Regions from separate parts of the Homo sapiens genome. Here regions 1, 3 and 4 are each linked to region 2. The links are contacts of gene promoters, found by promoter capture Hi-C in blood cells and fetal thymus (Javierre and others, 2016). All regions are on one chromosome and are shown on one strand. Each heading gives the region's core, a stretch centred on a gene start or on the middle of the fragment in contact. The rest is flanking DNA. Distances are from core to core; before and after follow the strand shown. Region 1 has its middle 210 kb from the start of TM2D1. Region 2 holds the start of C1orf87 (chromosome 1 open reading frame 87). Region 3 overlaps PATJ (PATJ crumbs cell polarity complex component). Region 4 overlaps PATJ (PATJ crumbs cell polarity complex component).

The links. The method cuts DNA at HindIII sites, captures the fragments that hold promoters and counts their contacts. A CHiCAGO score of 5 or more calls a contact.
Region 1: a contact is called between a fragment that was not itself captured here and the fragment with the promoter of C1orf87 in region 2, in 1 of 17 cell types (endothelial precursors). The highest score is 6.4, in endothelial precursors.
Region 3: a fragment that was not itself captured here is called in contact with the fragment with the promoter of C1orf87 in region 2 in 4 of 17 cell types (endothelial precursors, M2 macrophages, M0 macrophages and 1 more); the score reaches 7.8 in endothelial precursors.
Region 4: a fragment that was not itself captured here is called in contact with the fragment with the promoter of C1orf87 in region 2 in 1 of 17 cell types (endothelial precursors); the score reaches 5.9 in endothelial precursors.

Annotation. Positions count from the first base shown.
Region 1 is chr1:61,513,071-61,516,513 of GRCh38, forward strand. No RefSeq gene overlaps it. Among named protein-coding and RNA genes, the nearest start is that of TM2D1, 210 kb to the right of the region's middle. The HindIII fragment of the contact is 877 bases long and covers 1,456-2,332 here.
Region 2 is chr1:60,072,448-60,075,804 of GRCh38, forward strand. C1orf87 (chromosome 1 open reading frame 87) reads right to left here and starts at 1,323. Exons shown (of 12, transcript NM_152377.3): 1 at 1,243-1,323; 2 at 90-223. The coding sequence starts at 196. The HindIII fragment of the contact is 5,384 bases long and covers 1-3,357 here.
Region 3 is chr1:61,901,686-61,904,888 of GRCh38, forward strand. The region is part of intron 24 of PATJ (PATJ crumbs cell polarity complex component); the gene reads left to right. Among named protein-coding and RNA genes, the nearest start is that of MIR12132, 57 kb to the left of the region's middle. The HindIII fragment of the contact is 771 bases long and covers 895-1,665 here.
Region 4 is chr1:61,807,132-61,810,129 of GRCh38, forward strand. PATJ (PATJ crumbs cell polarity complex component) reads left to right here. Exons shown (of 44, transcript NM_001350145.3): 14 at 1,343-1,399. Among named protein-coding and RNA genes, the nearest start is that of MIR12132, 37 kb to the right of the region's middle. The HindIII fragment of the contact is 1,179 bases long and covers 796-1,974 here.

The DNA.
Region 1 (3,443 bases), core at 644-3,143, 1.4 Mb after region 2:
AGGGGGACACACAGGAAAGCATCTTTCCAGGAGAGCCAAGGAGCAAAGGAAGGAACAACAGGAAAGGCATCTGAAGCCAGCTTGAGGGCAAGTCAGGGCTTCCCTGAGCTGAAAATGCTCAAGATGAGGGTGAGGAGAAGACAGGCAGGTGCAGAAGGAGAGAGGCCGTGCAGGCAGAGGCCAAAGCTCTCTTGATGGCACCAACACATGAACGGCTTTGGGAACTACAAGCATCTCTTAAATCCATTTCCCATCCCTCACTCCCCAGGAGCAAAGGCTCTCATCATTGTTGTTGTTGTTTTTGCATCTCCTCAATTCCCCACCCCCAGCCCCTGTAGCCACCATTCTACTCTCTACTTTAATGAATTGCACTTTTTTAGATTCCTCATATGAGTGAGATCATGGAGTGTTTGTCTCTCGGCCTGACTTATTTCACTTAGCGTAATATCCTTGATGTTCATCTATGTTGTTGCAAATGACAGAATTTCCTTCTTTTTTGAAGCTGGAGAGTATTCCACTGTATACATAGACCACAATTTCTTTATTCATTTATCTGATGATGGACACTTAGTTTGATTCCATATCTTGGCTATTGTGAATACTGCTGCATAAACACAGAAGTGCAGATACCTCTTCAACATACTGAGTTCATATCCTTTGGATATGTATGCAGTAGTGGGATAGCTGGATCTGTGACAGTTCTAATTTTAATTTTTTGAGAAACCTCCGTGCTGTTTTCTATAATGGCTGTACTGATTTACATTTCCACCAGCACTGTACAGGAGTTCCCTTTTCTCTATGTCCTCGCCAACACTTTTTATCTTTTGCCCTTTTGATAGTAGCCACACTAACAGGTGTAAGTTAATGTCTTATTGTGGTTTTAATTTGTAGTTCTCTAATGATTAGAAATCTTGAGCATTTTTTCTTATACCTGTTGGCCATTTGTATGTCTTCTTTTGAGAAATGTCTATTCAGATCCTTTGGCCATATTTAAATCAGATTATTTGTTTTCTTACTATTGAGTTGAGTTCCTTATATATTTTGAATATTAGCTCCCTATTAGCATGGTACTGGCATAAAAATAGACACATAGGCCAATGCAACAGAATAGAAAGCCAAGAAATAAATCTGCACATTTACGATTACTTGATTTTTGACAAAGGTGCCAAAAACACACAATAGAGAAAGAGCTCTCTTCAATAAATAGTGTGAGACGACTGAATATCCACATGCAGAAAAATGAAATTAGACCTTTATCTCACATCTTATACAAACATCGACTCTACATGGATTAAAGATTTAAATGTAAGACCCAAAACTATAAAACTACTAGAAGAAAACATAAGAGAAAAGCTTCATGCATGACCTTAGTCTGAACAATGATTTTTGGGTATAAGCCAAAAATCACAGACAACAAATGCAAAAATAGACAAACGGTATTACAGCAAACTAAAAAGCTTCTGCACAGACAAGGAACAATCAATAGGGTAAAGAGACAAACTACAGAATGGGAGAAAATATATGCACACCATACAGGCTCTCCTCATTTCTCACCAAGAATACTGCAGTGGCCTTCTTGTTGGTACTGCTGTCTCCTGACCTTCCCTAACCTTTCCCACCACGGCCACCATCTTCACAAATACGTCTTTCACTGAATAATCTCATTCTCACTCTCCTTCTCAAAACTCTTCCAAGGTGCCTCACCATCAGGATAAAATCTCATCATCGATTTAGCATGTGAGACAGTGCCTGATGTGAGCTAATCCTGGTATCCCCCAGGGACCCTCATCCCCAACCTCCACTATCTTGTGCTCTGGTAACACAAAACTAAAATCTGAGTGTCATCTGAGTATTAGGCACAGTGCTGAATGCTTTCACTTTATATATTATGTCATTTAATCCTCATAGCAACCAGATGGGACAGAGCAACTTATCCTCATTTTACAGATGGGTCCAAAAGTTAAGCCAACGTGATCCTAAGACCCATGTTATTTCTAGGGCTGTAGTTTGGATTAAATTTGTTTATGTCCAGATATTTAAACTAATGATTAAGAAACCCTGGAGAAATAAAGCTACATGTTAGTTACATACAAGAAAGATACACATTAAAATAATAATTCACTTACTGAAGTCACATTAAAGACATAGAAATGACACCCAACCCCATACTCTAGCTCATAACCACCTGTCTGACCTAATTTCCTAACAGCCCCTCTCCTGCTCACTGTGATTCAGCCACACAGGCCTCGGCTCTTCTCGGAATGGTCCAAGTCTGCTTCAGTTGCAGGATCTTTGTGTTAGCTATTCTCTATCTGAAAGTGCATGTGCAACAAGCTTTTTCATGGTTCATTTTCTCACATCACTGAGATCTTTGCATAAATTTTACCTCCTCAGAGATAACTTTGCTGACCACATTTCCTAAGACACCACCATCATGTTCTGTTTTTCTCTTTCCTGTTATCCTTATTCATACCCTTACCATGACCTTACAAGATTAGTTATTTATTTGTTATCTGTCTTCCTTACTTCACAGGGTTCCACAATGGTAGGGTCTGTATTTCTAGAACCTAGAACAGTATCTAACATGTAATAAACACACAATTAATATTCATGGAAGAGAAAAATGGCTCCCAAACTCCCGAACATCTTTGACGATGACCTGACTGAGAGTATTAGAGTAGCTAGAATGCATGGGGTCACACAGAAGTGGCTTGGGTAATTAGTGAAGAAGGGGAGAACAGTAGACATGTGGAGAAAAAACAGTAAACATGTGTTGGTGGCATTCATTCAACAATGCACAGTAAAGAGAAAGGCCTGTTAGGGTCACACAAGTCCACGTCCTTTGAGGGGAGTGCCATACATTATGGAGATGAGTTGCATGAAGTAGACACTCAGTAAATGCTTAAAATTATGAGTGAATCTCGGAATTTTATGGTTACCTCAGCCTACCTCCACCTGGTTCTACTCAGGTTCTGAGAGCTAAGGTGGGTCAGTGACTTTGTAAGTTGGAAGGGATTTAATATACAGTTATCCCTCGGTGTCCATGAGGGATTGGTTCCAGGACCCCCGCAATTATCAAAATCTGCAGATATTCAAGTCTCTGGCATAAAATGGTGTCGTATTTGCATCTAACCTACACACAACCTCCTGTGTACTTTAAGTCATCTCTAGATGACTTATAAGTAATAAAGAGCAGGGAACCCAACCCCTAGGCCGCAGACCAGTACCAGTCTGTGGCCTGTTAGGAACTGGGCCACACAGCAGGACATGAGTGGCGGGTGAGCAAGCGTTACCACCTGAGCTCCACCTCCTATCAGATCAGCATGGGCATTAGATTCTCACAGGAGTGTGAACACTATTGTGAACAGTGCGTGTGGGATCTAGGTTGCCTGCTCCTTATGAGAATCTAACTAATGCCTGGTGATCTGACTGAGGTCTTCCAT
Region 2 (3,357 bases), core at 73-2,572:
TTTTTAAGTTTAAATTTCTGGGTGAAAACAAAACAATAAAACTTCATTATCATCCAAGCAACATAGATATTTTTCAAATATGGACTTACATCTTTGGCTTCTCCACGAGGTATTGAAAGTGTTTACTTCCAATGATTTTCACCATGATCTCAGGCATTGCATCTGATCCACGGGGAGTCTTCCAGGCTGAAGACATGATTCCTTTCAAAATCCCTTCAGATCCCTAGGGGTGAAAATAAGTAAATTGTTCCTCTTGATTTTCCATTAGGGAACTGCATCATCCTTGCCAATAACAACAAGCAATAATAATAGCAGGACAAAGTGTTTCACCTATATTACCTCACTTAACACTCCTAACAAAGGCATGAGAAAGATATTTTTAACTACTATTATCATTTTTGTTTTACTGTTGAGGAAACAAGCAAAATGTAGCTATATGACTTACTCACATCACATCACATCACCAGTAATTAGCCGACTTGGGAATCTCACCTAAGAGGTCTGTACAGCAGATCTACTGAATCATTAGGTGACTCTACCTTCCTGTACTACAAGACATAGGATGGAATTCCAGTGAGGTCAGAGCAGAAACAAGGGCATTAGTGGGACATATGAAGAATCCATATTCAGTTCTGATGTTTAGTTTCCCCATTTATGAGATCAGGGTAATTCTAGGTCTGTTCTCAGGGACTTGAGGGTGAATCCAAGGAGATAATGCATCTGAAGGGAGACTGTACACAAGACAGACAGACTTTTGTTGTTATCACTGATCTCTTTCTACAACAATACAATGAATCTGAAATTGAACTCCTGCACAAGGTGTTTAAACAGAGTGATGCCAAGGGAAAATCAGAAGTTCAGTAAATCTGGCCACAGCTGAACACTCCCTTTTAGAACCACCCAGAGGCTGAAAGGCCTTTAGAAATCATTCTACTCCAAAGGCTCCTTCACAGATTGGAAAACTAAGGCCCAGAGAGGGTGTGTTATTTGACAAGGGTCACAGAGGAATGAAGGACGGGACTGTTTCCAGTACTTGGGTCTGATGTCTAGGCCAGGGTTCTTCCCAAAAGTCCAATACTAAAGACCTGTGCTAGGGCAGCCCCTCATCCCGGGGACCTGCAGCCTCTTTGCACCTGTCTGGAATCTTCCAGACCCGGAACTCGTGATCCTCAAATCCCCTCCCTGCCCAGCAGCTGCGTGTCGGCCCTGATTGCCCGGAGAGAACAGAGTCGGGGGGCTTACCGCTAGGGCAGCGTCCCCACCCTGGCAGCTCAGAGGTGCGCGGTCCGTGCTTCTCCCCAGGAAGCTGACACTCTCAGACCCGGGGACGGGACGGGGCGTGGGGACCGAGCCCAGGAATCCGGCCAATCACAGGGCCCGCATCGCGGGCGGCGCCTGTTCCGCCCTGGTCGCTAAGGACGCTGAAGGCTGTTTCTGGGCGGGGACCAGGTTTTTCTCCACTGCCTAGGCAATGGACCCAGGCTCTGGCTGCCAACGGGTGAAGAGCCTAGGTGTTTTTGATCTGTGCCTTCTCTGTTCCTCAGAGATATGCGGGCGTCCTTCTAGAAGCCCATCTCGCTCACCTGTGTGGTCACCCTTGTCCCGCCCTTCCTCCGAAGGCTTCATTTCCCTTTGTGAGTTTGCACATAGTTGAGATTCCAACACAGTAGGTTCAAATCCAGACGTCTCCACTGTATGGCTTGAGTAAATCCCTTCTTTTCCCTGAGATTGTTTCCTCATCTGTGAAACGGGGCAAAATAATAACACTGTCCTAACTGCGATTTGGTGACTAAATTAAATAAGAATATCGGCCGGGCTCAGTGGTTCACCCCTGTAATCCCAGCACTTTGTTAGGCCGAGGTGGGCAGATCACGAGGTCAGGAGATTGAGACCATCCTGGCTAACATGGTGAAACCCCGTCTCTACTAAAAATACAAAAAATTAGCCGGTCGTGGTGGTGCGCGCCTGTAATCCCAGCTACTCAGGAGGCTGAGGCAGGAGAATTGCTTGAACTTGGGAGGTGGACCTTGCAGTGAGCCAGGATGGTACTACTGCACTCCAGCCTGGGCAACAGAGCGAGACTCCATATCAAACAAACAAAGAAACAAAAAAACCAGAATATTATAGATTGATAATAATAACGTTGAGTACTGTCTCTATGCCAGATCCCTATGACAAGCTGGATAACTCTCACCTCACAAGTTAATAGTTATAAACAAAATAGTTTTACTTTATTTTAAAGAGAAAAGAAACAAGTTGGGGTATTGATAAACTACTCCAAATCCTGCAAAAGCAAGTACAGAGCTAAGATTAGAATATAGATCTGCATATCCTACATTTCCAGACAGTTGTTATTATGCTAAAAGAAACTTCAGCTGATGCAGGCAAAGACACTTTAGATTGATTCCCAAACGGTATTGTTATTTGCATCAACATAGGCAGCAGCAGCTCCAGCATCTGTTCCCCTGTCTCCTAACCTCTAGCTGTACTGTGCTTTACAGGTGAATATATCACCCACTGGCACATGCAGCCAGAGGTGGACAGCACACTCAGCTCCCCTCCAGGGGCTCACTCTCTAGAGGGTGAGACACACAGCCACATTCTATGATATAGAAAGTGTTAAGGGAGCAGAGAAGCGGGGACAGCTCCCTTCTCACTCCTCCCTCCTAGCCTTCACGTTGCTTCCAGATCAGTCTTCCCAAGGCCCAACTCTGACAAGCCCCCTCCTCTACTCAAATGTCTGAAAGATCTCATCAGCCACAGCAGGTGTCTGTGGTTTCAAGACCTTCCACTATCTGACTTCAAGCTAGATCTCTAGCTTGATCTCCCACTACTTCTCCTAGGCTTGTTATGCTGCATCCAACCCAGTCTACTCACTGGCTTGAATCTCCCTTTCATATCTCTGCCTCAGTGCCTTTGTTCACTTTGTTTCCTCTGCCTATAATGCCCTTCCATTTCTCACTGTGTCAGCCTGCCTATCCATTCTTTAAGTTGGATCTCAAATGATATGTGAACTTGGGAATCAGACACTTTGAGTTCAAATCCTTGCCCTGCTAGTTCAGTGTAATCTTGGGCAAATCACTTAACATCTTTGTGCTTTAGTTTCCTCTTCTATACAATGAGGATGACTTTTTGTGAAGTTTAAGCGAGTTATATAAGAAAGGAACTTAGAAGAATGCCTGACACATAACGAACAATATAAATGTTTGCTCTTATTTTGGAAGAAGCCAAACTGGATTCCAGAGCTGAAAGTGGCTTCTTCATCTTATCTATAACTTGTGGTTTCTCTCTTAGGAAATATGTGTGTCTTTGTCTGAGAGTGTGGTATTTATTTGCTTTGTTTGTCCGGGCTTCTCG
Region 3 (3,203 bases), core at 30-2,529, 1.8 Mb after region 2:
AAAAACACTTTAACTAACAAAGGGCTCTATATAGAACAGGGCAGATGGTAGGCATTATGCTTCTCCCACATTCTTTAACAAGCTCTAAATTTTTTTCCTGAAGCCCTAAATTTTATAATTATGTGTCAGGAGGATATTATGCTTGTTTAGAGAAAGAAGTTGACCCTGGAAGGTTGAAGACTCTATTGGGTGAGGGGAGGATCCATGATTCGCACCGGATACGCTCTGTGGGCGCTAAGTTTTAAAGGCACATCAGGCCGAGCACGGTGGCTCATGCCTGTAATACCAGCACTTTGGGAGGCCGAAGCAGGCAGATCACTTGAGGTCAGGAGTTTGAGAGTAGCTTGGCCAATATGGTGAAACCCCATCTACTAAAAATGCAAAAATCAGCCGGGCGTAGTGGCACGTGCCTGTATTCCTAGCTACTCAGGAGGCTGAGACAGGAGAATCGCTGGAACCCTGGAGGTGGGGGTCTCAGTGAGCCAAGATCGGACTTCCCTCCAGCCTGGGTGACAGAACGACACTCTTGTCTCAAAGCAGGAAAAAAAAAAAAAGGCATATTAAACCACTGAGAATGCCCTGAGGTCTGAATGTGATACATTTCTTTGCATTGGGTTAATTGGGTGACACCATGGTGGGTATCTGTAATCCCATAATCTGCTTGTTCTTGATTCATTCTTTATGATGCTAACTGTTAATCATGGTGTTTCAGCTGTGATAGAATACAAAGAGCCCTGGATGTCATGGGTTGGAGTCGGAGTCTGTCCTTTTTATTTTCTATGTGTTTTTGGACAAGTCATTAGACCTACTTATTTTCCGTTTTCAGATAAAATGGAAATGAGAATTCAAAATCGATAGCATTATTGTGAGGATTAAATTAAGGAACTACATAAAAGCTTGTCTGTATATACAAATGTTGAGTTATATTTGTGCTGTGCAATATTTAAAACAATTTTCAAATATACTACTTATGGCAATGAAGAAAATGACCAACAGTCCCTTCCCTTATGGTGTTTACATGATAGTGGGAATGGGGGAATAGACAATAAAATAAGTATATGTAGAATGTCAGATTGCAATAAGTAGCTAGGGAACAAAATAAAGCAGGGGAGGAGGATAAGGAGCGTTGGGGTTGGGGATGGTGAAAGCAATAGTTGCAATTTTAATAACTTTGTTATGGAAGATGATATTGGGACAAATATAGGAAATGAGAGAGTGAGCCATATAGATATATGGAGGAAGAAAAACATGCAAAAGCTCCGAGGTAGGAGCTTGCCTGGATGTGTTCAAGGAGCAGCAGTGAGTCCAGCAATGATAGCATAGCATGAACAAGCCAGAAGGGGTAAGAGAAAAGGGCTGAGGAGTGATGGGAAGCCACATCACGTAGATCCTGAAAGCTCTGGAAGGTCTTCTGCTCTGAACGCAGCGGAGAGTCACTGGAGAATTATGAACAGGTAAGTATTGTTTCAAAGGAGTATTCTGGCTTCAGGGGCAGGGATGGAAGCAGGGGCCTCAGCCAGAAGGCTGTTGCAGTAACTTAGGAGAGAAAGAATGGCGGCCTGGACCAGGAGGAGAGCAGTCAGGTTGTGGTATATTTTGCAGGTGAATAATAGGACTTACTAACAGAATGGATGCAAAAGAATAAAGTGGCAAAGATAATTCAAAAGCTTTTCAGCTTGAGGAATCGAAGATGGAATTTCTGTTTGCTGAGATGGGCAAGACTGTGGGAGGAACAGATTTGGGGAGACATGTTTTAGACATGTTAGGCTAAGATGCCTATTTGACATCCATATAATAATAGTCAGTTAGATAAACAAATAAGGAGTCCCATATTCTTACTAATTTTTTTGGTCTTTTTCCTCAGTTTCAGTTAGAGTTTGTCCCCCACTGTGATTATGGATTTGTTTGCTATTCTTTGTAATTCTGTTGGTTTTGCTGTACATATTTAGTGGATTTGTTGTTGGTGATTTGCTTTTGACATTATGTGGTTTTCTTCTGTATTCCTATTAGTTACTTTTTGCCTTAAATTCTATTTTATTAATATTGGTAACCTTGTTTTATTTTAGTTATTAATTTACATGGTACTTTGCTTTTTTTTTTTTTTTGAGATGGAGTCTCTCTCTGTCACCCAGGCTGGAGTGCAGTGGCGCAATCTCAGCTCACTGCAACCTCCACCTCCCAGGTTCAAGCAATTCTCCTGCCTCAGCCTCCCAAGTAGCTAGGATTACAGGCACCCACCACCACGCCCGGCTAATTTTTGAATTTTTTGGTGGAGACAGGGTTTTGCCATGTTGGTCAGGCTGATCTCGAACTCCTAACCTCAGGTGATCCGCCCACCTCAGCCTCCCAAAGTGCTGGGATTATAGGCATGAGCCATTGCGCCCGGACAGTACTTTGCTTTTTTCATTCCTTCTTTTCCACCATTCTTTTCATTTAGTTTTAGTTGTATTTTTTGTAAGCAACATCCAACTAAATTTTGTTTTTTGAATCTAATCATCTAGAAAATAAGTGAGACGAATTCACTTTTTACTTTGATTGCTGATCTATTGTAACTTAATTTTTTAATGTTTCGTATTATATTTTTTCTTAATGTATTCTGAAATCATCATAAATTTATAGGAAATTACAAAGAAGTGTACAGGGAAGTCCCATGTACCTTTCACTCGGTCACCTCCAATTTTAATATCTTATACAACTATACTATAATAGCAACACCAAGAAATTGACATTGGCTCAATCCGTAGTTTATTCAGATTTCACCAGTTATTCATGCATTGATTTGTGTGTGTGTTTGTAGCTCTATACAGTTTTATCACATGTAAAACCTTGCATATGCACCACCACAATTGAGAAACTCAGCTGTGTCATCACCACCAAACTCCCTTGCATTACCCTTCTGTATTAGTCCATTCTCAACTGCTATGAAGAAATACCTGAGAGTGTATAATTTATAAAACAAAGAGGTTTAATTGACTCACAGTTCCACATTGCTGGGGAGGCTTCAGGAAACTTATAATCATGGTGGAAGGAGAAGCAGGCACCTTCTTCACTTTTGGTTGCCTCTTCCCTTTCTCTCCCATCCCTAACTTCTGACAACCAGTTTTCTGTTTCTTGATGTCTATAAATATGTTATTTCACAATTGTCTTATAAATGCAATTATGCATTATGTATTTTTTGAGATTGCCTTTTTTTACTTAGCATA
Region 4 (2,998 bases), core at 135-2,634, 1.7 Mb after region 2:
AGAGGGAGACTCCACCTCAAAAACAAAACAAAACAAAACAAAAAACAAAAAAACATTTTTTTGAGAGACAGGGTCTTTCTCTGTTGCCCAGGCTGGAATGCAGTGGTACAATCATAGTTCACTGCAGCTTCAACTTTCTGGGCTCAAGTGATCTCCCACCTCAGCCTCCTGACTGGCTGGAACTACAAGCATGAGCCACCACGCTCGCTTAATTTTTCAAATTTTTTTAGAGATGGTGTCTCGCTGTGTTGCCCAGTCTGGTCTCGAACTCCTGGGCTCAAGTGATCCACCCTGCTTGGCCTCCCAGAGTTCTGGGATACAGACATGAGCCACTGCCAGCCTTCTGTTAAAATTTTATTCTCCTTATAATTAAACTTTTAAATTTCATTTATTTATTACATGGTGAGGTCATAACAGACAAATTATAAAGAGGAGACAGAATTTGAAGTTGGAAATTTAAAGTGACAGCTATCCATTAAAAGTTGTAGCATCTTGTACCGAGGAATGGTTGGCAGAAAGAAGCTAGGCATGATGGAGAATGAATGAATGCGTGTACTCCAATATTTCTTATTTTGTTAAAAAACTTTCTTACAGGATCTGCTTATCTGAAATGCAGTACTTTCAGAAGCTGTAGTTGGGTCATTGTTTAACTTATCCCTTCCCGCCAGATGCATCATATTTTATTAACAAGTTACAGATGCAAATCATCAGTAACATACTTTTGCTTGCAAGGAATTCACTTCTGTGGATGTCCACCATTGAAGCTTAGAACAATAGTTTTAGGCCAGGATTAAAAGCTTTAAGTATTCCATGAGCTTTCCACCAAGGACCAGGTCTTTCCGTTTATGTCTTTGCCAGCTATTTCTCCTGGGGAAATGGTTTGAGCTTGTTGTGGAAAGTCAGATGCTTTAGTTTTTCCAAACACATCTGACTTTACTGACCTTGCAAATTTTGTTTTGAGGCTTGGGTTTGAAAGTAAAAATGGCCATATTTTTGATTTTGTCAAAAGAGTAAAATTTTTATGCATCCAGGATAATGGAGGATTATATTAAAATTTTAGGGGTCATGGATTTTTAAAAATAGTATATATATGTGCCCATCACCTTCTGTTCAATTTATGTAATTTAGGAAAAAAGATTGTTGTGGAGAACAACAACAAAAAAATCAAATATACTCTGAAATTTCACATTATGTGTTATAGATTTCAAAAATATAAGAAAGGTATCGGAATGTAGGTCAAATAGAGTTATCAATATATAGGTTTTACAGATATTTTCAGAAAATGTAGGAGGAAATACAGTTATGCTTTTACAAATACTGGAAATTTTTTTTGTAAATTTAGGTTGCTACTTTGGACACACAGATTGCAGATGATGCTGAGTTACAGAAATATTCAAAGGTAAGCATTTTTTATAACAAAGTTAACAGTTTTATTTTTTTTAAGAGATAGGGTCTCACTATGTTGTCCAGGTTGGTCTCAAACTCATAGGCTAAAGTGATCCTCCCGTGTTTCCCTCCCAAAGTGTTAGGATTACAGGTGGAGCCACTGAACTCGGCCCATTTTTTTATCGTTTGAAGAACTTTCTTTAAATTCTTGCTGAAGAAACTAAATTAGTGCTGTGACCTAAAGTTTCCAGAATTTAGTCTTGCATGTTTCCTAGAAATGTGATGGGTCTCACTGTTATGAAAGATGATGCCTGGGAAGAACACAGGATCCCTATGTCATGTTCAGAAGCCAAAACCCAGGTTTGACTCCTTTGCCCACATTAGAGGTAGTATGCAGAGTAACATTGTGCAGTGTGCGTTAGTTTTTTAGATATTATAAGGAGTCCTTTAATGAATGTTTCCTAAAAATCAAGACCCGGGAATACAGGCTTTAAAAAAGGCTTCAGGTTCAGATGTTCAAGGAAAGAAAAGTGGTTTATCTTCTGAGTGTAGGCAGTAGTTGTTCTTGAACTTAAAACGTTTTTGGTAAGCTTTATTTCTGTTGGCAAGGTGCCAGAAGACAACTTCGACAGTTTTTTTTCCAACATTTTTTAGCATCCTGTCACTAAACATTCCCATTCTGGATAAGCAGAGGCCAGGGCAATTGAAACTTAGAGAAGCCTTGTAGGCGGCCTCCTCAACAATTGATAAGAAAGGAAAGATGTTCTTGCCTGAGTGGTTTCAGAAGTCATAGTGTAATTCTGCATGGGATATAAGTGCTGAGCCTACCTTAAACTCTTCTGTCACATGCAGTTTTAAGAATGTATTTTCTTTTTTTTTTTTTTTTTGAGACAGAGTTTCGCCCTTGTTGCCCAGGCTGGAGTGCAGTGGCACAATCTTGGCTCACCGCAACCTCTGCCTCCCGGGTTCAAGCGATTCTCCTGCCTCAGCCTCTCTAGTAGCTAGGATTACAGGCATGCACCACCATGCCCGGCTAATTTTGTATTTTCAGTAGAGACGAGGTTTCTCCCTGTTGGTCACGCTGGTCTCCAACTCCCGACCTCAGGTAATCCACCCACCTTGGCCTCCCAAAGTGCTGGGATTACAGGCATGAGCCACAGCGCCAGGCTAAAAATGTATTTTCTGCATCCCATGAAGGTTTCATAAGAAGTTGAAAAGTCTTTAGATAGTGCTACCATTTTCTTCTTGGTTGAATATTTGTAATCAATATTTATCTTCCATGATTTTATGCTATGTATGCCATAATTTTATAGGTTTCAATTTTCTTTTCTTTCTTTTTTTTTTTTTGCACAGAGTCTTGCTCTGTCGCCCAGGCTGGAGTGCAGTGGCATGATCTCAGCTCATTGCAACCTTCGCCTCCTGGGTTCAAACGATTCTCCTGCCTCAGCCTCCCAAGTAGCTGGGACTTTACAGACATGTGTCACCACCCCCGGCTAATTTTTTTCTTTTTTAAGTAGAGATGGGGTTTCACCATGTTGGTCAGGCTGGTCTCGAACTCCTGACCTCAGGTGATCCACCTGCCTCGGCCTCCCAGAGTGCTGGGATTACAGGC